5 separate regions of the Homo sapiens genome follow, and regions 2, 3, 4 and 5 are each linked to region 1. Evidence: promoter capture Hi-C in human tissues and cell types (Jung and others, 2019). All regions are on one chromosome and are shown on one strand. The core of a region is centred on a gene start or on the middle of the fragment in contact, and the rest is flanking DNA. Distances in the headings are between cores, read along the strand shown.

Region 1 (5,326 bases), core at 1,382-3,881:
GGGGAGATGGTACCCAAGCCACGATCCCACAGACCCACGCACACCCCATCCCTGACACACCCCACCTCCACTGTGACTCACAGCTGGCAACATAAATAAAACCCAACAAGTAAATAAAAGGTGAAAGTCAGAGCTCAAAATAGACTCCCCACAGTAAACCTCCCTCCCACCCCCTTTCCCAGGCTGGAGGACGCCAAACACAGACAAAGCCCTGGCCCTTTTCAGCCCCATCTCCTAAGGATGCTCATCTCACCCTCCTTCCTCCCTCATTCTCTTCCCCTTTATCAATCTTCCACTCCTCCATCCCCCAGCCCCTAAATCTCAGCTTCCTCAGCACTGCAGAAGCCATCAGTGCATTCTGAGGACAGGGGATGGTAGCAGAACAGGCAGCTTGATGGCAGATAATCACCAAAAACAATAGGCCACTGTCTCTCCATTTCCAGGCTTGGGTCACTCAGGCTGCGCCAAGAAGATCCTTTCAGAGCCGGCAAAGTTGAGGCCTGGCCTCATTTGCTCATTACTGCGAGCGGGAGCGGGAGCCACTGGGCAGAGATAACAGGAGCTGGGGACAGGCGGTAATTTGACAAATTCTTGGGCACAAGCAGCTATTGTTGCAGGTAAACGGGAGCCAGGGACTGACCCAAGCAGAGAGGCCCAAGGCTGGGGGACAGCAGGGAAGCATGGAGAGAAGAGATCCACACTATCCCTGCCCCCAGCAGACAGACACCCCCATCACATGGGAGTAACCCCCTCCTCTGACTTTTCTACTTTTCCATCTGCCCTGGAGCCAGCGCCCCCTGCAGGGTCTAAGACACGAAGGAGCTGTGGGACAACAGCAAAATGTTCCATGAGTTTGAATGCCAACCAAGCAGCTTCTCCTAAGATCTAGTCTTCCGAAGGGTCGTTTCCAGGCAAGCTAGAGCCTTTCTCATAAATCCCCTCCGTGGGCAAAGCAGGTCCCTGTCTTCCACACAAAGCAAGGAGCTCATTGACCAAAAGTCGGGGGAGGAGGGAAGGAGAGAGGGAGGGGGCTTCAAGGGATGCTTTGCCATTGGTCTGGATGAAGAGGGGGTGTCGCAGAGCCAAATACTAGTTAGAGTTCACAGAAGCCACCGGGTGGGTCAGTGCTACCCTGACTCACCCAATTTGGGCTGGGGGAGGGACCTAGCCCCACCCCAAGCTCTGCTCTGAGGCATCATGATTAGTACTTCTAGGGAGAGGGTGGCGGCTGCCTCTCCCCTCACCAGGACTAGGGGAGGGGGGATGTAGCATCTCATGGCAGGCCAGGGATTTTTCTCCTCCCTCTCCCCCCCAACTCTAGTGACAAAGTTTCAGAGCATGGCAGCCCTCTTACTCAGAAAAACTCCCTCCTTCCTCATGGACCCCGTCCAGCTGTCCCCTGGGGAGAGTCCTGACCCTCTCCTCCGGCAGCCTCCCTCTCCCAAAGGACCCCCGAAGCCCCGAGGGCCACTCACTGTTTTGGAGTCGAGCTCGTGCCGCGATTGCGCCAGCACTTTATCCACCCCCGCCTGGTCCATGAAAGTGACGAAGCCGAAACCCCTGCGCGCCGTAGTGAGGGAGAGGCAGATGGTTACAAGGCAGTGAGTGGCGGGTGGAGGGGGGCGAGCCGGGAGCAGGAGGAGGGGGTGAGGGGCTCACCTGGATCTCTTGGTCAGGGGGTCCCGCATCACCAGACACTCCTTCACCTCCCCGAACTGGCCGAAGTATTCGCGCAGCCCTTCTGTAACCACACACCCGCCTTCGGACCAGCCCGGGCCCCGCGCCCTTCCCCCCCCCCCGTCCTTTGCCCCCGGTGACCCCGGAGCGGCCCGGCCGCCCCCGCGCCAAGCTGCCCGCGCGTTCTCCACTGCCGCCGCCCCCCACCGCCCTCGCCCCGTTCCCGCTGAGCCTCCTGGCGCCCACCGGGGCCCCGGGAAGCCGAGGGCCGAGCTGGGCTGGAAGGGGGACGGCTCCGGCCGGGTTCCCGCCGCTCCGGGAGCAGCCTCACAAAAGTTTGAGCCGCAGGTGCGAGCGGAGTTGGCGCTGCCGCCGGCGGGTCCCGGGGGCCCAGCCCACCCCCCGATACCCCCTGAACCCCTCATCTGCTCCCCTCCACCCGCTGGGCCGGGTGCGCTCGCGGATCGCCCTGCGCTCTCGGGGTCTCCGGGCGGGGCGCGAAAGAGGGCGCGAGGGCGCCCGGGGTCAGCAGGGCGCAGGGCCGGGCTGGGGTGTCCGGGTCCGGGGCGCCGGGGGGTCCGGGGTGCCCTGCCGGACCGGCGGGCGCTCCCGGGCTCGCTCACCCTGCGTAGTCTGCCAACTGAGTCCCCCGATGAACATCTTGCTGCGGGAGGAGGAGAGACACAAAGGGCCCGCGTGAGCGCCGGGCGCCAGGGCGCAGGGGGCGCGGGCCCGGGCTCCGGGGAGGCCCGGCCGGACCCGGATCGGCCATGTTGGCGGGGCCGGGGCGGGCGCGGGCCAAGCAGGCCGGGCCGGGCCGTACCAGGGGTCGTGCGGCGAGTCCGGGGAGGCGAGGCCGGGCTGGGGCGCGTCAGTCTCCATCGGGAGCCGCGGGCGGCGCGGGCAGCGGAGCGGCGGCGGCGGCGGCGGCGGCGGCGCTCGGCGCGGGGCAGATGAGGAGCGCGGCGAAGGGGGCCGGACGGACAGGCCATGCTGCCCCCTCCCCCGACCCCGCTCGGGCGGGCGGGCGGGGACGGCCGAGGGGAGGGCCCGCCGGGGGCCGACCTGCCGGCTCCTCCCCCCGCCGCCCTGCGCGCATAAAGCCCCGCGCTCGCCCGCGAGCCCGGGCGCCCGCGGAGGCGGCGGCGCCGGGACCCCCTTCCCGCGGGGCTCCTGGGTCTCCGGGGCCGAGCGAGACCCCCGAATCCCGGTGCGGGCCGGGACCAGGGCGCGGCCGCACCCCCCACCCACCCCGGCGCGGGGGCCCGGCCGCGGGAACGCCCTCCCGGAATGAAGCGCTTCCCGGTGCCTTCAAGGTAGCTCGGTTCCGGATCGGGAACCCCCCCGGTCTTCCCTCTCAGGTCCCTGCTGTCCAGAATTGAAGAGAACCCCAATCTCCTCGGGTCGGGCGGGAGATAGCCCTAGTGCTCCCCAGTCCCCACATGCTCCATTTCCCCAGTCGGAGCGAGAAGCCGCCCTCAGAGCCCCCAGTTTCCTCCCAACCTAATTTACAGCCCCCCACCCCCACCCCAGGGCTCTAATTTAGAGCCCTCGCTCCGTTCCCAGGATCCCATATCCAGTTTGGGGGACCCACTCAGTGCCTCGCGTCCCGAGTGGGGAACCTCCATCAGCACCCCAGTAGAAACCGTATCCTCTTCCCCAATCCGTCCTCAGCCCTTGGTGTCCAAAGTGAGAGTCCCCCTTAGTTTCCCCAAATCCCTGCCGTCCACATTAGTGGACCCTATGGTCTGTTGAGAAAATCCCGCGCCCCAAGCCCGGGTTCTCAGTTTGCCGCCACCCCCACCTCCCGGTGTGAGGAGTCTCCCCTGGTTCTCTCCCTCCCTGGCCGGTTTTTGTGAGATCCATTCAGACTCCTGTCCTGATTCGGGAAACCCGGTTCCAGACACTCACCACCCCCACCACACCGAGGCTGGAGGAAAAGGCAGTGCCTCTTAGAGCCTCCTGTTTCCAGTTTAGGAGCCCAACGCCTCAGCTGTGCACCGTCCCCTCCGAATGACCCCCTTCTTTTGCAGAGGTCTAAGCTCCACCCCATCCCATTGGAAGAGCCTAAACTACCTACCCACTGCATTTGGAATGACTTCCCTCAGTCCCTCTTATTTTGAGGCTACTCCCCGTGAAGGCAAACACCTTCCTTTCTACCCCCATCTTCTGGGTCTCTGGGATCCCCCAGTACTTGCACCCAAGGCTCCTTGGAGTCACCTTACGTACCCCTAAAATTCCCTCCCTCCAGCCTGGGAACAACCCTGAGAAAGTATTCTGGTTCACCAGGGGAGCTGCGGGGCCACTCTCCTTATCCCCACCTCTCCTTATCCCCGCCTCTCCATATCCCCACCTCTCCATATTCCCACCTCTCCATATCCAAGCCTTAGGACCCTTCACTTCCCCAGCTGAAACCAGCCAAAAAAGGATCAAACCAGGAAGCTTAGGTGGCCAACACCCCTTCTCCCCATCCCTGCTGGGGGTCTCAGTGCCACACAAGCCCCTCCCTCCCAACTCACCTTCTACTCCTTCCCCCATCCCTACCTTAATCCATCCGGTGTAATCCAGTGACAACCCATGTTGACAAGCCCTTTGCTGTTCACCTTCACATTCCATCCTGAATTCAACACCTTTTATTCCTGGGCATCATAACTCTGACCTCTGGAAGGGTGCCCATCCCCCTCTTGATAGCCCTCCTTCCCTCTCCCCACCCCAACCATCAGGCAGAGAAGAAAGTGAGAGACTTACAGTAATGGTTTCCTTGGGGACCTTCTGGGAATGCTCAGCAGGTATATCCTGCCACCCTGTGAGCATAACACTAGAAACAAACTTGCTTTTTCCTGTTTGTGTCCCCTACTCTGCCCCACAGTTTCTCAGCATCCCCTGGACTGGGGACTGGAGGGCCACCCACACAAGGCATTTCTTACCATTCCGACACAAAAGCATTCCAGTTTGTGTTGTAGCAGAGACACAGATGAGGGTGAGCAGGTAGCCTCTGCGGTATTAGGGAGGTGACTCTTCTTAGGTCTGAACTTAAAAAGGGTCATTGGAGAGGTGCGGGGAGTAGGGATCTTCCAGTGTTCCTGGACTTTGGTTTGTGTGCTGGTGCTGCTGGGCAGATGAGCTTGAAGGATAGGAAATGGGTCCTTTCCGGCAGTGGCGACCTACCCACGAGAACATGCCTCTCGACAGGGATCTCCTTCATCCTTCTCCAGAAGAGAAGAGGAAACAGAAGAAGAAACGCCTGGTGCAGAGTCCCGATTCCTACTTCATGGATATGACATGCCCAGGATGCTATAAAATCACCATGGTCTGTAGCCATGCACAAACGGTAGTTTTGTGTGTTGCCTGCTCCACTGTTCTCTGCCAGCCTACAGGAGGAAAAGGAAGGCTACAGAAGGATGTTCCTTCAGGAGGAAGCAGCACCCAAAGCACTCTGAATCAAGATGAGTGGGAAACCATCTCAATAAACACATTTTGGATTAAAAAAAAAAAAGGAAATGGGTAAAGGCATCTGTTCAGAGTCAGCCAATGCTGTGTAAGAAGTAGCTTGAGATAGGATCCATGTATTAGCATATTCATTCAGAATCTGAGGAGGAAGCGTCTACCTCTTTTGGTCAGTAGCTTGTTTGTATCACAGTAACATGGG
Region 2 (4,775 bases), core at 2,031-4,530, 130 kb after region 1:
AGTCAATGGACCAATGGAAGAATGCCGTGGGCTGCGTCAAGCCAATAGGGTCGCGCGGCGAGGGGCGGGGCCGGCGGGAGCAGGGCGGGGCCTGAGCACTAGGCGGCGGCGGCTGGCGTGGGGCTGCTTAGATGCGCCACGGTTTCGGTAGCGACGGTATCTCTAGCCGGGCCTGAGCTGTGCTAGCACCTCCCCCAGGAGACCGTTGCAGTCGGCCAGCCCCCTTCTCCACGGTGAGAAACTCGGGGGGCCAGGGGGTGTCCTCGCTGCCTTATTTCGCCCCACTCCGGACTTAGCCCTCCGCGTAGCCCGCGCTTCCTGAGAAGTGGGGTGGGGGGCGTCGTCCCGTGGTGGCGCCGGCCGGGGTGGGGGCAGTTAGTGCCTGGGGGGCGCGGCCCAACTCAACCCCTTACCCCAGGCCTTGCCCACTAGGTAACCATGTGCGACCGAAAGGCCGTGATCAAAAATGCGGACATGTCGGAAGAGATGCAACAGGACTCGGTGGAGTGCGCTACTCAGGCGCTGGAGAAATACAACATAGAGAAGGACATTGCGGCTCATATCAAGAAGGTGAGGATGGGCGCGGGGGCCGATACGCAGCCGGGAGCAGGGGGTTCCTTCCCCCCGATCCTGCTTTCCTAAGGGCGCCTGACAGGTCCCGGGAATACTGCTGGCGGCTTGGGGCGTAGAAGCTTCCAGAAAGGACGCAGATGCATTTTGCGCTCCTGTGGAGAAGACCAGACCCCCGGCGTCCGAAGTTTTTTTTTTTTTTTTTTTAATTACCCAGCTCCGCGGGGGGAAAGCGCCACCTAGCAACGGTATCTAAGATCAGGGAGCAGCGGTTCCCCCTTCTGTGTGGTTCCTGCGCCGAGGATCCATCTGGGTGTTCCGGAGGGGGGAGCTGCGTGGGTGTTTCCAGCCGGGCCGGGAGGAGATCTTGCCAGCCTTCCAGTGGGGAGTTGAGGGAAGGTGGTGGGTGGTGGCGGGGCTGGGGGCTGGGGTAGGGGCTTGGTAAATGGCAGTCTAGAAAGCCGGCAGGACTGCCAACTTCTCGAGCAGTGTTTGCTGGAAGGGAAGAAAGCTGGCAGCCTAAGCCGTGGGAGGGTTCCAGTCGAGAATGGGAAGATGAAAGACTTCAGATGGAACAGAAATAAATGCCTTTTTTGACAAACGCAGCAGTGCGTGCCTCTAGCTTGCAAGAGCGTTACTCCCCTTCATAGCTTTAAAAGGTTTTCGCACTGCGTGCAGTTAGAGTAGCTAAATCTTGTGTGACGCTCCACAAACACTTGTAAGAATTTTGCAGAGAAAGATAACCGTTGCCACCCAATGCCCCCCACAGGCATTCTACTCCCCAGTACCTCTTAGGGTGGGAGAAATGGTGAAGAGTTGTTCCTACAACTTGCTAACCTAGTGGACAGGGTAGTAGATTAGCATCATCCGGATAGATGTGAAGAGGACGGCTGTTTGGATAATAATTAAGGATAAAATTTGGCCAGTTGACAGATTCTGTTTCCAGCAGTTTTTACAGCAACAGTGGAGTGCTTCAGTATTGTGTTCCTGTAAATTTAATTTTGATCCGCAATCATTTGGTATACAATGCTGTTTGAAGTTTTGTCCTATTGGAAAAGTCTTGTGTTGCAGGGGTGCAGTTAAGATCTTTGTGATGAGGAATGGGATGGGCTAATTTTTTGCCGTTTTCTTGGAATTGGGGGCATGGCAAATACAGTAGGGTAGTTTAGTTCTCTACACAGAACATGATAAACTACACCTGTTGATGTCACCGTCTGTCAATGAATATTATAGAAGGTATGAAGGTGTAATTACCATAATAACAAAACACCCTGTCTTTAGGGCTGACCTTTCGTCCTTTGACCTCCTCAGCCTCCATTCCCATCTTCGCTCAGACTGCAAGTATGTTTGTATTAATGTACTATGTAGGCGGCTTGGAGCTGGGGAACATTCTTTCATTCTAAGAATTTGCAGATGCTGACGTTCCTCCTTTCTGCCCCTACAGGCTCTGGCTTATCCAAGAGGCAAACACTGACCTCTGGTAATTAAAATCCTAGTTCTTTTCTTTTGTCTTTTCCAGGAATTTGACAAGAAGTACAATCCCACCTGGCATTGCATCGTGGGGAGGAACTTCGGTAGTTATGTGACACATGAAACCAAACACTTCATCTACTTCTACCTGGGCCAAGTGGCCATTCTTCTGTTCAAATCTGGTTAAAAGCATGGACTGTGCCACACACCCAGTGATCCATCCAAAAACAAGGACTGCAGCCTAAATTCCAAATACCAGAGACTGAAATTTTCAGCCTTGCTAAGGGAACATCTCGATGTTTGAACCTTTGTTGTGTTTTGTACAGGGCATTCTCTGTACTAGTTTGTCGTGGTTATAAAACAATTAGCAGAATAGCCTACATTTGTATTTATTTTCTATTCCATACTTCTGCCCACGTTGTTTTCTCTCAAAATCCATTCCTTTAAAAAATAAATCTGATGCAGATGTGTATGTGTGTGAATTACAATTTGTTCAAATAACAGCGTTGAAGACGGTCACTTGATCAGATGCCCAGGTTGGTGGGGATGAGTCCATCCTTACAGAAGTTAAGTTTCTGTGGGGTATTTCAGTACTCTTTAGTCACATTCTCTCACCCATCCTGCAACTGTTGTGCATGTTGAGAAATGCAGTGCATGATAAAGAAACATTTAAATTAAATCTTTAGTCCTAATCTGAAAAAAATCAATGTTTAAGGATATTTGTTAAGACATTGCTATAGAATGTTCTGGGCCTTTGGCCTCAGGTTGTGGTGATGGATGTGTATGTAGTAGTACTTGAAGCTTTCTATGGCTATAAAATGGAAATAAGCTCAAAACAAAGTTGGGATAATGAAATGGATTCCAGGACCCTTGTCTAGCCCCCTCCCCTGCCTAGAAAGAAGGTGGCCTTAGGGGAAAGTAAATGTTTCTGAGCAGCAGTTTTCATGCTCTTCTAATAATGTAAATTCCTGCAAAGACTTTATCAGCCTGCTGTGCTGTGCTTTGCTGTGGTCAGGAACAAGTGTGAATTGATACCTTTTCCTGAAAAGACCCAATTAAAGCTGGGGACAAGTAGCTATCAGAGGTTTCCTGCTATCAATTTTAAGAGGACTGCAGTCGTAGAAAAGCAAATATGGCAGACTTGTAGGTGGAAAGGAAATAAGACAGGCTGGAACAACCCACACCCATCTTGGGAAACTGCAAGAAGGGTCCTGACTTGTAGTTAGCCTATGTTTTCCCATGGATCTCTAAGATGCCATTGGGATTTCTAAGCAGCTAGGTGACTGCTACACAGAAGAGGGCGATAGATTGGAATTGATGGGTGATAACTCCCATTGTAAGAGTAGAATTAGGTCAGTAACATATTTGGAAGTTTATTTTTCTTCAGAATGTGTGGTTTTAAGAATCCTAGCAAAGTTGTGCTACTTTAGGATTGGAAGGGTTTCAGGGTAGAGGTGCAAGATTTTGACTTTTTTAAGACAGAGTTTCGCTCTTGTTGCCCAAGCTGGAGTGCAATGGCGTGATCTCAGCTCACTGCAACCTCTGCCTCCTGGGTTCAAGCAAGTCTCCTGCCTCAGCTTCCCAAGTAGCTGGGATTACAGGCATGTGCCACCATGCCCGGCTAATTTTGTATTCTTAGTAGAGATGGGGTTTCACCATATTGGTCAGGCTAGTCTCGAACTCCTGACCTCAGGTAATCTGCCCACTTCTGCCTCCCAAAGTGCTGGGATTACAGGCGTGAGCCACCAAACCTGGCAATTTTGACTATTGTGCCAGTTTTTTCCCTGCTGTCTGCAAAAAAGGATGAGGTACTGTGGAATAAACAGGAGACTGCAACTGGGGTAATTTTATGTTTGTATTTATATAAACAGACCGAAAATGTTCCTTTTTTCTAACTTTCATTTTTTTTGAGACTCCTATTGCCCAGGCTGGAGTGCAGTGGTGTGATCATAGCCCACTGCAACTTCAACCTCCTGGGCCCAAGTGATCCTGCCACCTCAGCCTCCAAAGTAACTGGGACCATAAGTACATGCCACCATGCCTAGCTAACTTTTGAATTTTTTGTAGAGCTGGAGTCTCCCTGTGTTGCCCAGGCTGGTCTTGAATTCCTGGGCTCAAGCAATCCTCCCAAGGTGTTGGGATTACAGGTACGAGCCACCACACCCGGTTTAATTCATATTTTTTCTTTTTTTTTTTTTTTTGAGACGGAGTCTCACTGTCGCCCAGGCTGGAGTACAGTGGCGCGATCTCGGCTCACTGAAAGCTCCGCCTCCCAGGTTCACACCATTCTCCTTCCTCAGCCTCCCGAGTAGCTGGGACTACAGGCACCCACCACCACGCAAGGCTAATTTTTTTTGTACTTTTAGTAGAGACGGTTTCACCATGTTAGCCAGGATGGTCTCGATCTCCTGACCTCGTGATCTGCCCACCTCGGCCTCCCAAAGTGCTGGGATTACAGGTGTGAGCCACCGAACCTGGCCTAACTCATATTTTTTCTATCCCTTTTCCCTCTTTAGTGACCTGGCTATATTTCTATTTGAAGCCCACAGGGAATTTGGCCTCCAAAGCTTTAGTTTGTCCAGTTAAGCCCTACTCAGAACGGATGATCTGTCTCTAGCTACAGACCCAAAAGCTGATTCAAGACTGATAGCTAGACACTGGGAGTTTTAGTTGAATATGATCTGTCCCATATTTACTGTCAAGTTGGCAGCTTTTTTGTTTTTTTATTCAGATGT
Region 3 (4,748 bases), core at 1,316-3,815, 170 kb after region 1:
GGAAACTGGATATTGGCTGATTTTTAAAGTTGAAACTAAGCTGCCTTAGGAACGTAACAGCTAAGACCAGTGCTACTACAGCAGATACTCAGGAGCTCTGATGCAGTGACTTCACGATGAGATGGTTGCTCTAACAAAAGGGTACACTCAAGCTCCGCATAATCCCATAAAAAGATTTCTGCAGTATCTCATAAGCTGAACACTTCATATACTTGATTCTGCTGGGAATCATTGAAAGGACCTCTTGAATTACAGAGTACTGAGTTGAGGGGAAAACAAGCGTAAGGTGAAAAGATAGTTTATCTTTTGTCAAGGTGAAAAGAGCAAGAGTTTTCAGTATTCAAATATTTAAGTCACTTTTTTTCTCCCCCTTTTCTACCTCGTGGAAGAAAGCCCTTTGGTTTCTATTCTGTAAACTGTCATTAATGGCCATTTGCTTCCTAGCTACATGATTAATTTCTTTGAGATTTTGTTCCAGTGGCTGGCTTAAATTTGCCCTTCATTTGTACACAGGAAATATGTAAATTTGGCTACCAGGATTTTCTTGATCTTTCCGGCTAGAGTCGCATACCACAGTTTCTTTGCCTGGGCTAATTGCCTGAACATTTATATAACATTCCTTTTCTTGATTATATTCCTACAGCTTCATTCCAGTAGTGTTAATAGGTATTTCTGAGAACATGCAGCAGTAAATATCCTGTGAATATAGCTCAGAGGAGAGAAGGTGGGTTAGAAAGTGGGGAAAGTCATTTAGAGGGAGCAAAGAAAGAGAGGCAAGAGAGAAGGTAGGCCGTTTATGGGCAGGCAGTGGACTCTGGCCAGGAACCAGGCTCTTGTCCCATCCCCCTGGGCCGATAGAACTGCCAGGGAGGTTAAGGGAAGGTCAGGTATTATGAGGCAGTTATTTTGAGGTTGGTGGTATGAAGCACTGCCCTGGCATTCTTCCTGTTATTCTGGTACCAGAAACCAGGTTACTAGTGGTAATCTGCCTTGAAGAATGCCTCTGAGCTGTAAATGGACCTGGAGATTTTAATGGCTTTGAAAATTGAGGTGATTTGAAGCCTTCAGTAAAACCACTTAGAGAAATTAAAAGAATTTCAGGGCCCGTTGGCTGGATTCCTTGGTTTATATGGCTTCATTGGAAGTCTAGTGGGTGCTCTTGACAGGAACGCTTTGGATTTATTAATGATAGGCTTTCAAATCATAGTAAAACTGTGTGTCAGCCACTATGGTAGGCATTTTACAGAAGTTTTCTTTCTTAATCCTCATGATTCTATGAGGAAGTATGGTAGAATATTAGTCCTGTTTCACAGAAAAGAAAATAGAGGCTTAGCAGTGTTAAGAGTGATTTGTCCAAGTAAATTTTTATGAAGTCCTAGGCGGTATTTTTCAATAAGCTTTGTATAATCACACTTAGCAAGCAGATAACTTACTGGCATGTGCATCATTCCTGATACCACCTCTCTCTTCCTTTCATTCAGAATTACTAATTTCAGCTGGATTCAATTTGTTGTCAGTTGATTCTGTAGTAAGGCCATATGTTGCCCCTCTGGAGGTGCTTGTCAACTACTCTGGATGATGGGTAAGCAACTTGCTTGTGATTACAGCATGAATCAGCAGCAGAAACTTGCTGACTGGTATTCTGACCTCTAGGCCGAGCCACCTGTTAGAACTAGAGCTAGAAATGAAGATGCCAAGTAATTTAACTGTGAAAAACTTGTGGCCCTTAATTTGGTAATGGGGGGAGGCTGAGATATACCTACTGCTACTTGGTGGAGACCTTTCCATTAGGGAAATGTGGAACAACTGAGAAGCTGGGTTAAGTTTTTAAGTCATTTATTTGTCGACTCTGGAGCCTGAGTTTAGTGGTCTTGTCCATTTTGGAATGTGTCTTGACAGTAGTTCTTGGCAGTTGTTCTCAGTGGTGGCTGTGCATCAGAATCTCCTCAGGAACTTTTTTTTTTCCCTCAAGACAGTCTTGCTCTGTCACCCAGGCTGGAGTTCAGTGGCGCGATCTCAGCTCACTTTAACCTCTGCCTTCCCGGTTTAAGCAATTCTTCTGCCTCAGCCTCCTGAGTAGCTGGATTGCAGGTGTCCACCACCACACCGGCCTAATTTTTGTATTTTTAGTAGAGATGGGTTTCGCCATGTTGGCCAGGCTGGTCTCAAACTCCTGACCTCATGAGGAACTTAAAAAAAAAAAAAATAGGGGTGTGTGGGGCCCCTTCCTAGGAATTTATTATCTTTTTTTTTTTTGTAGAGATGGGGGTCTCACCATGTTGCCCAGGCTGGTCTCAAATTCCTGGCTTCAAATGATCCTCCCACCTTAGCCTCCCAAAGTGCTGGGGTTACAGGCATAAGCCACTGTGCCTGGCCTTTTTCTGATTCTTTAAGCCTAGATTGAACCCGTGGGTCCTGGGCATTCATAATTTAAAAAGTCTGTGCAAGTGATTCTGGTGTGCAGCCAGGATTGAGAACCACCACTCTGAGATTTAAAACTTCACCCATAGTTCCTTCTCCCAGGAACTTGATATTTTTTGTTTTCCAAAATCTAAAGTGGATCATCTTATCACTCCTGTTCTACCCTCGAGTTTTTCCCATGTATATCCTGGCAAGTTGTCCACAAAACATTTCAAAAATAATACTCTGAATTTTATCTCTGGGTCCCAGGCCTGATGGTACCTTCAACCTTTAGCTGCCTTTTGCCTGGGTCTAGAGATAAGAGCCAGTCTCTCACTTGACATATCTGTCTTCATACCCTTAGGTAACTGGAAGACGAGAAACGAGTTGATTTTGGCAACTAAAATCACTAATCATGATGTGGTCAGTTGTTATGTGTTTTGGAAATGAGCAGTTTACTGTCTTATCAGTGAGCATTTCTGTAAGCATTATGAAACTGTTTCCTTGCCAGTGTGGTAATAAGTGAAGAAATGAAGACAGCCTTCTTGCTGAGTGCCAGTTTACTTTCTTTTTTTTTTTTTTTTTGAGACAGAGTTTTGCTCTTGTTGCCCAGGCTGGAGTGTAGTGGTGCAGTCTCGGCCTTGCCGCAACCTCCACCTCCCGGGTTCAAGCTATTCTCCTGCCTCAGCCCCCGGAGTAGCTGGGATTACAGGCATGCGCCACCATGCCCAGCTAATTTTTTGTATTTTTAGTAGAGACGGGGTTTCTCCATGTTGGTCAGGCTGGTCTCGAACTCCCGACCTCAGGTGATCCGCCCGCCTCGGCCTCCCAAAGCATTGGGATTATAGGCATGAGCCACCGTGTCTGGCCATTTTACTTTCTTAATAAGCCCTTGCCATGTAGAATCTGGCTTTACCTAAATCTATGCAAACCGTGAGGTGCATCTTGAAAGCAGCAGTTAGGGTCAAACAGGTAGGGTCCAGGATCATCTGAAACAGTCTTGGATAATGAGGTTGGAGGATATGTGTTTTCTTTATATACCTATCCTCGTAGAATCTCCTTTGCTTGAGGTGATGTGAAATGGAGTTAAGGAAAGCAAAGCAAGAGAATGTGGCTGAGTTAGCTGGGGTTCTGCATCCCCTGAGTTTTCCTTTTTTTTTTTTTTTGAGACGGAGTCTCACTCTGTCGCCCAGACTGGAATGCAGTGGCACGATCTCCGCTCACTGCTAGCCCCGCCTCCCGGGTTCACGCCATTCTCCTGCCTCAGCCTCCCGAGCAGCTGGGACTACAGGCGCCCGCCACCAAGCCTGGCTAATTTTTTGTATTTTTAGTAGAGATGGGGTTTCACCATGTTAGCCAGGATGGTCTCTATCTCCTGACTTCGTGATCCACCTGCCTTGGCCTCCCAAAGTGCTGGGATTACAAGCATGAGCCATCGTGCCTGGCTTTTTTTTTTTTAGAGACAAGCTCTCGCTCTGTCACTTAGGCTGGCATGCAGTGGTGCAAACATAACTGACTGAAACCTTGAACTCCTTGGCTTAAGAGATCCTTGAACTCTTGAACCACTGTGCCTGGTTTATCTTTTTCTTTTTTTTTTTGAGATGGAGTCTCACTGTGTCTCCCAGGCTGGAGTGCAGTGGTGCAATCTTGGCTCACTGCAAGCCCCGCCTCCCAGGTTCACACCGTTCTCCTGCCTCAGCCTCCTGAGTAGCTGGGACTACAGGCTCCCGCCACCACGCCTGGTTAATTTTTTGTATTTTTAGTAGAGACAGGGTTTCACCATGTTAGCCAGGATGGTCTTGATCTCCTGACCTCGTGATCCACCCGCCTCAGCATCCCAAAGTGCTGGGATTACAGGCGTGAGCCACCGTGCCTGGCCTTTTTCTTTTTTTGAGACAGAGGCTCACTCTGTAGCCCAGGGTGGAGAGCAGTGGTGCCATCATAGCACACCGCAGCCTCAACCTTGGCTTAAGCAATCCTTCCAACTCAGCCTCTCAGCTAGGACTGCAGGTGTGTGCCACCACATTGGGCTAATTTTTAAATTTTTTGTAGAGATGGGGTCTTGCTATGTTGCCCAGGCTGGTCGCAAACTCGTGGACTCAAGTGATCCTCTTGCTTTGGCTTCCCAAAGTGTTGAGACAACCGGCATGAGCCACCAAGTCCAGCGCTGAAACTTTGCTTTCTAATTGTTACTACTAGTGCCATGTTTGACACTAACTGTTGCTAACTGAAGTAATAGGTAAAAGTTTAGTTTTTAAGTTCTAACTTTATTTATTTGTTTTTTGAGACAGAGTCTCACTCTGCTGCCCAGGCTGGAGTGCAGTGGCGTGATTTCAGCTCACTGCAAC
Region 4 (5,165 bases), core at 1,796-4,295, 160 kb before region 1:
CTATGGTACTATGATACTACTATCTATGATCATTGGGAGTATCTATGGTACTATGATACTACTATCTATGATCATTGTGAGTGTCTATGATAGTCTCCTGTGCCTTCAAAATCTTTGCCTTCTCCATAGAACTTTCCCAACTAGCTTGTAAGATCCAAAGGTGTGAGACACACTGATCCAGAACATTCAGGGAGTGTAGTGAGGGGAAGGAAATATAAATTGTCTCGTCAGCAGTTAATTTTTATTTTATTTTATTTTATTTTTTTTGAGATGGAGCCTCGCTCTGTCGCCCAGGCTGGAGTGCAATGGTGCAATCTCAGTTCACTGCAACCTCCGCCTCCTGGGTTCAAGCAATTCTTCTGCCTCAGCCTCCAGAGTAGCTGGGATTACCGGCACCCACCACCACACCCAGCTAACTTTTTGTATTTTTAGTAGAGACAGGGTTTCACCATGTTCGCCAGGCTAGTCTTGGACTCCTGAGCTCAAGTGATCTGTCGGCCTCGGCCTCCCAAAGTTCTGGGGTTACAGGCATGAGCCACCGTGGCCGGCCGGCAGTTATGTTTTGATGGCCTTTTGAGAATGGAAGCCTGTGTGGATTCCGTTGTCTGCCTTGCTGTGGATCCTGAAAGGTGTTCTGTTGGCACTGGGCGCTGAGCCAGGGGGCAGGCTGTGGTGGTCCAATGTTCAGTTGGCATATTTCCACTTGTACTTCAGGCACCCAACTTCCGCCATAGCCTAGGGCTTCAGTCTTCACCCTGAGATCCCTGGTTCCATCAAGATGCTCAGCTCCATTCGGCAACCCGCGGACACCCGAGATCTCTTTTTAATGGCAATGTATTACTGCACACTTCGTATTGTCCTAAGTACTCTGTGCACATTACTGAAGCTAATCTTTGCAACAATCCTCTGAGGAGATACAGTACTGTCAGTACTCCCATTTTATCGATGAGAATACTCACAGGAAGGTTAAATAATTTGCCCAAGTCTCTCAGCCAGTAAGTGAAGGCTTCAGAACTGAAATCTAGGAGGAAGTTCAAAGCCCCTGGGCCTCACTGTGCTATACAGTCCATTCCAAACCCTGAGTCAGCCTCCCTCTGAACGCACTTTTCCAAGTATATACATATGCACAAGGTACATTTCCAAGGACCTCCTGGCTCTGATGATATAAATATCATCTCTAATTGTAGTACATCAATATAACGGAATACCATGAAGCCATTAGAAAATGGTACAGATCTATATTTATTGACATGGGAAAATATCCACAAAGCAAAGCGAAAAGCACATTACAGTGAAATATACCATACCTGGCCGGGCATGGTGGCTCACGCCTGTAATCCCAGCACTTTGGGAGGTCGAGGAGGGTGGATCATTTGAGATCAGGAGTTCGAGACCAGCCTGGCCAACATGGAGAAACCCCGTCTCTACTAAAAGTATAAAAATTAGCCTGGCGTGGTGGCGGGTGCCTGTAATCCCAGCTACTCAGGAGGCTGAGGCAGGAGAATCGCTTGAACCTGGGGGGCAGAGGTTGCAGTGAGCCATGATCGCGCCACTGCACTCCAACCTGGGTGACAGAGTGAGATGCCATCTCAAAAAAAAAAAAAAAAAAGAAAAAAAAGGAAATATACCATACCCATTTCTAGAAATAAAATAAATCCAACATGGGCTGGAAGAATAAACCAAGTTATTCTCTTGAACTCCTGGGCTCAAATGATCCTCCCACCTTGGCCTCCCAAAATGCTAGGATTACAGGCATGAGCCACAGAGCCTGGCCCCATCATTCTCTTTGGGTGAGCGTTGAAGGTAATTTTCACTTCTGAGCTCACTATAGCATGGGAAGAGTTTAAACTAGAATTCAACATGCTGCTTTTGGAGAACCGTTCCAAACAACAGGGAAGCTGTGAAGACACAGCTCAAGGTTAAACAAAACTGCCCAGGAAGCTCTAGGACAAGCTTGTCCAATCCATGGCCTGTGGGCCACATGCGGCCCAGGATAGTTTTGAATTTGGCCTAATGCAAATTTGTAAACTTTCTTTTTTTTTTTTTTTTTTTTTTTGAGACGGAGTCTCGCTCTCTCGCCCAGGCTGGAGTGCAGTGGCGTGATCTTGGCTCACTACAAGCTCCACCTCCCGGGTTCATGCCATCCTCCTGCCTCAGCCTCCCGAGTAGCTGGGATTACAGGCGCCCGCCACCATGCCTGGCTAATTTTTTGTATTTTTAGTAGAAACGGGGTTTCACCGTGTTAGCCAGGATGGTCTCGATCTCCTGACCTCATGATCTGCCCGTCTCGGCCTCCCAAAGTGCTGGAATTACAGGGCAAATTTGTAAACTTTCTTAAAACATTATGAGATTTGTGATTTTATTATTTTTTTTCTAGTTCATCAGCTATCATTAGTGTATTTTATGTGTGGCCCAAGGCAATTCTTCTTTTTCCAACATGGCCCCAAGGAAGCCAAAAGATTGGACACCCAGCTGGGCGCAGTGGCCCATGCCTGTAATCCCAGCACTTTGGGAGGTCGAGGCAGGCAGATCACTTGGGATCAGCAGTTTGAGACCAGCCTGGCCAACATGGTAAAACCCTGGCTCTACTAAAAATACAAAAATTACCCGGGTGTGGTGGTGGGCACCTGTAATCCCAGCTACTTGGGAGGCTGAGGCATGATAATTGCTTGAACCCAGGAGGTAGAGGCTGCAGTGAACCGAGATCGTGCCACTACACTCTGGCTTGGATGACAGAGTGAGACTCCATCTCAAAAAAAAAAAAAAAAGCCAGGAGTGGTGGCTTACGCCTGTAATTCCAGCACTTTGGGAGCCAAGGCAGATCACTTGAGATCAGGAGTTTGAGACCAGCCTGGCCAACATGGTGAAACCCTGGCTCTACTAAAAATACAAAAATTAGCCGGGTGTGGTGGCAGCTGCCTGTAATCCTAGCTACTCAGGAGGCTGAGGCAGGAGGATCCCTTGAACCTGGGAGGTGGAGGTTGCAGTGAACCGAGATCATGCCACTGTACTCCAGCCTGGGCAGAGTGAGACTCTATCTCAAAAAAAAAAAAAAAATTGGACATCCCTGCTCTAGGGCCTAGGACTGGAGCTCTGGATCTGACCGGAGCAAAGAGGAAGCACGCAAATCCGGACATGACGACGAGGAGGCAGTAGAGACCCATCCTCAACTGTAAGTAACTGCCTTCGGCAGGGAAGGGGCTAACCCACGTTGTGTGGGCTCAGGCACGGCCGCGTCTGGTTCTGTGCAGGAACACAGGCAGAGGCAAGCCCTGGGTCCGCATCATGGCTCTGCCCTCACTCAGATTGCCTTGTACATGTAGGTTCTTGTCCTAGAGCCTCTTTCCCTACTTCTAAATGAGTGGAAAGCCACCCACAAGCCCGTGAGTGAGGATGCCCTTGGTAAACCCAGGTGATCACACCCTGGGCAGGCCCTGCCCCACAGGGCCCCATCCCGCTGCTCCCCAGCCTGTCCTCACCAACTGCCCAGGCAGGAGCAAAGCCCACGGGGAGGACCTGTGACCACAGGCAAGGACCACGGACCCCAGCCCCAGGGATTTTGACCTCAAGAAAGGAAACATCCACAATTTACCCTCCATCTGGTGATCCAGCTGCATCTGGGGTGGGTTTGGTCTCTGCTGGGACCATGAGGTTCAGACCACCAAGAAATAGCACTAGCACAGGTGAAAATCATGGGCAAACTTTATTGGCATAAATCACAGGAATTGAAATGGGAAAAGCCAGCTTGGAAGTTTACAGAGAAAAAATAAAATCAAAATCAAATTTTCAAATAACCACTGACTCAGAGAATGGACCCCAGAAACCCCAGTCCCTCTTGGGGAAGATCTAGGGTGGGTCACTATAAACAGAGCGGTAAGGCCTGCGGGTGAAAGTGGAGACATCAGACCTTTGGAGGGGCTGGGCTGACCTTCCCCCAAAAAGGAGGGACCCTCTTCGGAGACCCCAGCACACTCGGCTTCTGCCAGGAGGCCAGTGGAGTGGTTTGGACTGTCACCATTAGACCCCGGTGGGGCCCCTTTCTCCTCATCAGGAGCCCAAGGCCTGGCTCCTCTTTCATCCTTGGTAAAGAGCTCTGGGGGGTTTCCCCAGAGGAGCCTGTCCCTCTGCCCCAAATCCTATCATGCTCCCTTATGACCTTCTTTCCAGACCCCCTGAGTGCCGATCCCACCTGTGAAAGGGGAGGAGCAGATCTGGGGAAGGGATATGCCCAGAGGAAATCAACAAGACCAAAGAGACGTCAGAGTCCTGATGGCCAAAATCAGACACCAGCTTTCCTGAGAAGGCAGAAGAGAGAGCCCCATAGAAGCAGTGGGGGCTCAGAAGGTTCAGTGGGTTCACAGGGGAGCAGAGGCTCCTGAGGGCTTACTCAGACAGGAAGCAGCCCCCCAAAACATACTTCCCCTTCTCCTCCCACAGAAACAGAACAGATAAAGTTCAGAATTCTAGGCCCAAAAGGGTGCAACACCCTTCAACCAGTTTCAGTGAAGAGCTTGCTGGCCTGGGAAGTAAAGAAGGGGTTTCCAAATACAGCAGTTTATAAAACAGTCCTGGTGAGCTATGAAGTGAAAGAGGGGGAGTCACAGAGCTGCTCCCAGTTCACCTGCTTGTGCTAAGAAACAATAAAATACAAATTGCTTCCCCACCCCAACCCTCAGTACAAAGCAAACTTCACACCAGAGCCACCATCAGTGACAGGCCCAGTGGCGGTGGATGAGGAAGAGAATACAAAAGGGAACGTCTTTAAAATCTCTTCAAAATCATTTTGTATAGAGAAGTAAAAGCAACTCAGGCGATATGAATTCAAACCTCAGTGTAGAAATCTATCAAAGTCGGTACAGTGTCCAGGCACGCCGTCCCGGAGACGGAGGAAGTGACTAGAAAACATTATTGCTGGAGAGGCTTTTCTCAGTAGAACAAGAGCAGGTATAAAAGGGGAGGGCGGGTCTAAAAGGCAGGGGCAGTCGCCAGGCCTAGGGCACTGGAAGGGTAGGAGGAGCACAGAGAACCTTCCATGGCCCCTTTGGTTCTCTGCCTTTGGATGGATGGATTTATGCTGGCATTGTCTGGAGGGAGCCGGGTGTCCCCCAATAATCACAGAACAAAGACAATTAGGTCGGGGGAGGAATAAGGATAAAAAGAGACCC
Region 5 (4,991 bases), core at 2,253-4,752, 200 kb before region 1:
TACAGGCATGCGCCACCACACCCAGCTAATTTTTGTACTTTTAGTAAAGACGGGGTTTCACCATGTTGGCCAGAATGGTCTCGAAATCTTGACTTCGTGATCCGCCTGCCTCGGCCTCCCAAAGTGCAAAATTGGTAACACCGTTTACAGAGGGAAACTTAACGGCTACGGGAAAAGACAGGGCTAAGGGGAAGCTTCTCATGTTATATCCTTTTGAATTTTGTACTGTATGAATGTATAACCAACTGAAACAAACAGTCCCAATACTAAACCCTGGTCCATCTAGGTATCATCTACAAGCCTGTGTAGCACTGGAGCAACAGAATGAAGGAGGACAGTGACACAGTCCCCTGACTGCATTCCCACTGCCCATGCAACCATGAGGTTCATCCTGCAGATGACAAGCAAACCTGTGGCTGATCCAGTGTGGTCAGGACCAAGCTAATCCTGAACATCAAGACACACCTCCCAAGGACTCTTGTCAGAGGCCCCTGTCTCTACCATCCTAGACACCTCTGGACTCATACCAGCCTGTGAGTCAGCCACTGACAACTTTAAGAGCAACAAGGCTGCGGCAACCCCTTCAGTGATGGTGGGAACCTGAGTGCTTTGGGAGGCTGCCTTCTCCACTGTCTGGATGAGCAAGGGCAGTAAGTCCAGGGCCTGCAACAGCGTGTCACCTGTGGAGAGAGGACAAGCACCTTAAAGGACATCCTGATCCTTGGAAATGACAGGACTGAGAAAGGATTTATCTAACCAGCTGTGAACCAGACGACTAAAACCCTTCAGTTAATTTTTCAAATATCTCAAAAAGAAGTGAAGTGAAATCAAAACTTAAATCAAACTCTACAGCCACAAAATTAGAGGGAGAAAGATAATCCTTATGGCCAGGTGCGGTAGCTCACGTCTGTAATCCCAGCACTTTGGGAGGCCGAGGCGGGTGGATCACCTGAGGCTGGGAGTTCGAGATCAGCCTGACCAACATGGAGAAACCCCGTCTCTATTAAAAATACAAAATTAGCTGGGCGTGGTCCAGTTATTCAATTGATGGATAAGCAGAGACATTAGGTGTGTTGCTCAAGGTCACACGGCTAGTTGAGGCAAGTCAGAGCCACCCTCAATCCTGTCAATTCCCATCTGGTACTCTTCCCCCATACAGATGACCTTCGGACCCAAATTCTAAATTTGGGTCCAAATCTGCTGACCTCTGAACTAAACTCTTTTAAAAAAAAAAGGAAGCCAAGCACAGTGGCTCATGCCTGTAATCCCAGCACTTTGGCAGGCTGAGGCGGGGGGGATCATGAGGTCAGGAATTCCAGACCAGCCTGACCAATATGGTGAAACCCTGTCTTAGCCGGGTGGGGTGGTGCACGCCTGTAATCCCAGCTACTCAGGAGGCTGCAGCAGGAGAATCGCTTGAACCCAGGAGGCGGAGGTTGCAGTGAGCCGAGATTGTGCCATTGCACTCCAGCCTGGGTGACAGAACGAGACCCCATCTCCAAAAAAAAAAAAAAAAAGAGAAACCAGTTAAAACTATAGTTTGGCTGGGCACGGTGGCTCATGCCTATAATCCCAACACTCTGGGAGGCTGAGGCGAGCAGATCACCCGAGGTCAGGAGTTCAAGACCAGCCTGGCCAACATGGCAAAACCCTGTCTCTATTAAAAAATACAAAAATTAGCCAGGCATGGTGGTGGGCATCTGTAATCCCAGCTACTCAGGAGGCTGAGGTTGGAGAATCGCTTAAACCCAGGAGGCGGAGGTTTCAGTGAGCTGAGATCGCACCACTACACTACAGCCTGGGTGACAGAGAGAAACTCCATCTCAAAAAAAAAACTATAGCTCAAGCACATGTTTTCTTCCCCCCTACCCCAACACCTTGGTTTGTTGTTCCATGTTTCCATAGCTACTAAATGGGTACATCAGAACATTTCACAATGAAAGCAGTTTCCCAGATAATGTTTTATACTTGAATCCAAGAAATCTTTATTACAGAGGTTTATTTTCGTTTTGTTTTTAAAAGGTTTATTTTATATTATGTTTATTTTAAAAGCAATGAGCATTGAGTTCTGGCACTCTGCATTCCTTTTTTAAAAAATAAATTAAAAATAAATGCAACGAGCAGAACTAGCTCAAGCTGAAGAGACTAGGTAAAACCAAGTTTTTGCCATCTACAATTCAAAGTCCCACCTACAACTGATGGTCATTCAATGCAGCAATAATGCAAACTGATATATATAGTACATAGACTTTTTATATAATTTTTGGTAGAGACAGAGTCTTGCTATGTTTCCCTGCCTGATCTTGAACTCCTGGGCTCAAGCAATCCCGCTGCCTCAGCCACCTGTGTAGCTGGGACCACAGGCATGTACCACCATGCCCAGCTATTTTTTTAATTTTTTTGTAGAGATGGGGGTCTCACTTTGTTGCCCAGGCTGGTCTCAAACTCCTGGGCTCAAGCAATCCTCCCACCTCAGCCTCCCAAAGTGTTGGGATTACAGGCGTGAGCCAGCTCGCCTGCCTCATAGACTGTTTTTAAGTCATGGATGTGAGTTCACTATATCCCTAAGGCAGCTGAAAATGTATTGAGCGTACATTTCTACCCATGGAAAATCTATGACTTCAATCAGCACTACCTGTGGTTTGAATAAACCTCACAAACCACTGCACAAAGATGATCTATGATTCTGAGCTGGGAGACATATTTCAGAAAAAGATATATTGCTTTCAAATCAGTGCAAAAATCTCTTATGGTCAGATTCTTCTTCCCTTATCATTAAAAGAAATATGTGAGTACAAAGTTCATCAGACAAGACATTTCACACAGAAGGGGGTCCCCTCCCAAGAGGAGGCCCTGGAATCTCCTAGATGTTTCTTTTTCTTTTTTGAGACAGAGTATCACTCTGTCACCCAGGCAGGAGTGCAATGGCTTGATCTCGGCTCACTGCAACCTCTGCCTCCTGGGCTCAAGCGATTCTCCTGCCTCAGCCTCCCGAGTAGCTGGGATTACAAGCACCTGTCATCATGCCTGGCTAATTTTTGTATTTGTGTAGAGACAAGGTTACACCATGTTGGCCAGGCTGGTCACGAACTCCTGACCTCAGGTGATCCAACCGCCTCGGCCTCCCAAAGTGCTGGTAGGCGTGAGCCACTGTGCCCAGCCTCTCCTAGATGCTTCTTTAAATACAGTTCATAAGTTTAAATCTTTTTAAAAAGAAATACAAGCATATCTCTGAGATGGAAATCAGTAATAGAGGTTTATAGCTTGGAGACCAAGCTCCTATACAGATTTGAAAGTTTCCCCCAGCTCTGCTTGCCCAAATGACAGTAGGTTCCTCAACACTGAAGGAAGGGCGGTGGTCATTTTTAATAAGTCCAGAGTAAAGTTTACACGAAGTTGGATTTTTTAAACCAGTCTTTTTTTTTTTTTTTTTTCCAAGACAGAGTCTTGCTCTGTTGCCCAGGCTGGAGTACAATGGCGCAATCTCGGCTCACTGCAACCTCCATCTACCGGGTTCAATTCTCCCTGCCTCAGCCTCCCACGTAGCTGAGATTACAGGTGCCCGCCACCATGCCCAGCTAATTTTTGTATTTTTAGTAGAGACAGGGTTTCGCCATGTTGGTCTTGAACTCCTGCCCTCAGGTGATCTGCCCGCCTCGGCCTTCCAAAGTGCTGGGATTACAGGTGTGAGCCACCGCACCCAGCCCTTAAACCAGTCTTATCTGAGTCATTTCTCCATGATTTCAGATACTATAGTGACAAGTTCTGGTTCTGGTCCTCTCTGAATAAAGCTTTGTACTTTGAAAGTCTGACAAGGGGGAGAAGCCAGAATTTGTTGTGAAGACTGAATTCGGATTTTGGGCTAAGCCCAATGCTCTCATTTATTTCAGGAAGAATTAAACAGTGCAAAATAAGCTGAACTAACAGGGAAAGCGGGAACACTAACAATACCCTAAAGACTCAGTAACCTCTGCAAGGAGACCTGGACACTAGCCCTGGGAGTTGTCTTACCCCGGTAAGAGGCCAACATGCACTGCAGGTAGGCATGCCTCACCGCAGATGTGGAGGTTTTAAGGCTGAAAGCTTTTTTGAACCATTCAGTGAGCTTCTTGGGCACTTCCATAGTGAATCGGTTACACCAGAGAGCCAGGACTGAGACAGCGTGTACCAAGGTCCCTTCATGAACTAGGGCAAAAAGCAGAAGTCCAGTCAGTCCAATGTCTTATAACCATGTCAAATCATTGCAAGCAGTGCAAAAAACAAGCCAGAGTACAAGCGGGAGGAAGCAGTGATATTTCAGACAGCTACGAGCCTTGCTCTGAGGGAGGTGTGTCTTTAGGAGAGGTTTATGGAAGGAAAGCTCCAACTGTGAAAAACCACGGTCAAGGATGAGTACAGAACGCATGCTCACCATGTTGCACAGAATTACCTTCCTGCTGAAGGAACGGGATGAACAGCTCAGCCACGATCCCATTCAGGACCTGACTGGAAGGTCCAGACACCACGTGATGACTGACGCTCCCAATCCCTAAAAGGCAGATTCCCTGTTCAGTCTCTTATCAGCACAGAACCACAGAGGCAAGTCTTCCCACTGCTGCCACCTCCGCACTCTGGGTCACAGACCTCTTCTGTGTCTCCAGCAGGCATACCTCTCCTTTGGCCATTATTGATCTTCCTTCAATGCCCCCTCTACACCTCCTGCCTTCTATAGAAGCCAAGCCTCCTGCTAGACCTGAACAAGTCCCTCTTGTCAAGCAGGCAAGCAGCAGGGTCCTGGGAGGCAGGCTGGACCCAAGATCGTCACAGGAGTCAAGATGCAAAGAAGGCTTCGCCTTACCTAAGAATTATGTTAAAGCTTATCTACTACTAGGCCAGGCGCAGTGGCTCACGCCTGTAATCCCAGCACTTTGGGAGGCTGAGGCAGGTGCATCATGAGGTCAAGATCGAGACCATCCTGGCCAACGTGGTGAAACCCTGTCTCTACTAAAAAT

The links. The method cuts DNA at HindIII sites, captures the fragments that hold promoters and counts their contacts. A contact is called where the count stands out against the background at its distance.
Region 2: a contact is called between a fragment that was not itself captured here and the fragment with the promoter of MSI1 in region 1, in 5 of the 25 tissues and cell types used here (dorsolateral prefrontal cortex, lymphoblastoid cells, mesenchymal stem cells and 2 more).
Region 3: a fragment that was not itself captured here is called in contact with the fragment with the promoter of MSI1 in region 1 in 6 of the 25 tissues and cell types used here (bladder, dorsolateral prefrontal cortex, lymphoblastoid cells and 3 more).
Region 4: a contact is called between a fragment that was not itself captured here and the fragment with the promoter of MSI1 in region 1, in 1 of the 25 tissues and cell types used here (bladder).
Region 5: a contact is called between a fragment that was not itself captured here and the fragment with the promoter of MSI1 in region 1, in 1 of the 25 tissues and cell types used here (spleen).

The regions. Positions count from the first base shown.
Region 1 is chr12:120,366,533-120,371,858 of GRCh38, forward strand. MSI1 (musashi RNA binding protein 1) reads right to left here and starts at 2,632. Exons shown (of 15, transcript NM_002442.4): 1 at 2,501-2,632; 2 at 2,301-2,341; 3 at 1,660-1,741; 4 at 1,476-1,560. The coding sequence starts at 2,559. It also overlaps the pseudogene RPS27P25. The HindIII fragment of the contact is 19,353 bases long and covers 1-4,940 here.
Region 2 is chr12:120,495,984-120,500,758 of GRCh38, forward strand. It overlaps DYNLL1 (dynein light chain LC8-type 1), which reads left to right and starts at 130. Exons shown (of 3, transcript NM_003746.3): 1 at 130-233; 2 at 433-570; 3 at 2,090-2,510. The coding sequence starts at 439. The coding sequence ends at 2,227. RefSeq lists an enhancer at 1-454 and a silencer at 14-533. The HindIII fragment of the contact is 3,028 bases long and covers 1,767-4,775 here.
Region 3 is chr12:120,537,887-120,542,634 of GRCh38, forward strand. All of the region lies in intron 1 of RNF10 (ring finger protein 10), which reads left to right. Among named protein-coding and RNA genes, the nearest start is that of RNF10, 5.9 kb to the left of the region's middle. The HindIII fragment of the contact is 6,302 bases long and covers 1-4,748 here.
Region 4 is chr12:120,206,763-120,211,927 of GRCh38, forward strand. It overlaps PXN (paxillin), which reads right to left. Exons shown (of 15, transcript NM_001385981.1): 15 at 3,685-5,165. It overlaps PXN-AS1 (PXN antisense RNA 1), which reads left to right. Exons shown (of 4, transcript NR_038924.1): 3 at 3,077-3,172. Among named protein-coding and RNA genes, the nearest start is that of PXN-AS1, 8.1 kb to the left of the region's middle. The HindIII fragment of the contact is 7,134 bases long and covers 1-5,165 here.
Region 5 is chr12:120,169,642-120,174,632 of GRCh38, forward strand. It overlaps GCN1 (GCN1 activator of EIF2AK4), which reads right to left. Exons shown (of 58, transcript NM_006836.2): 13 at 4,430-4,528; 14 at 4,012-4,185; 15 at 528-680. Among named protein-coding and RNA genes, the nearest start is that of MIR4498, 17 kb to the left of the region's middle. The HindIII fragment of the contact is 3,020 bases long and covers 1,993-4,991 here.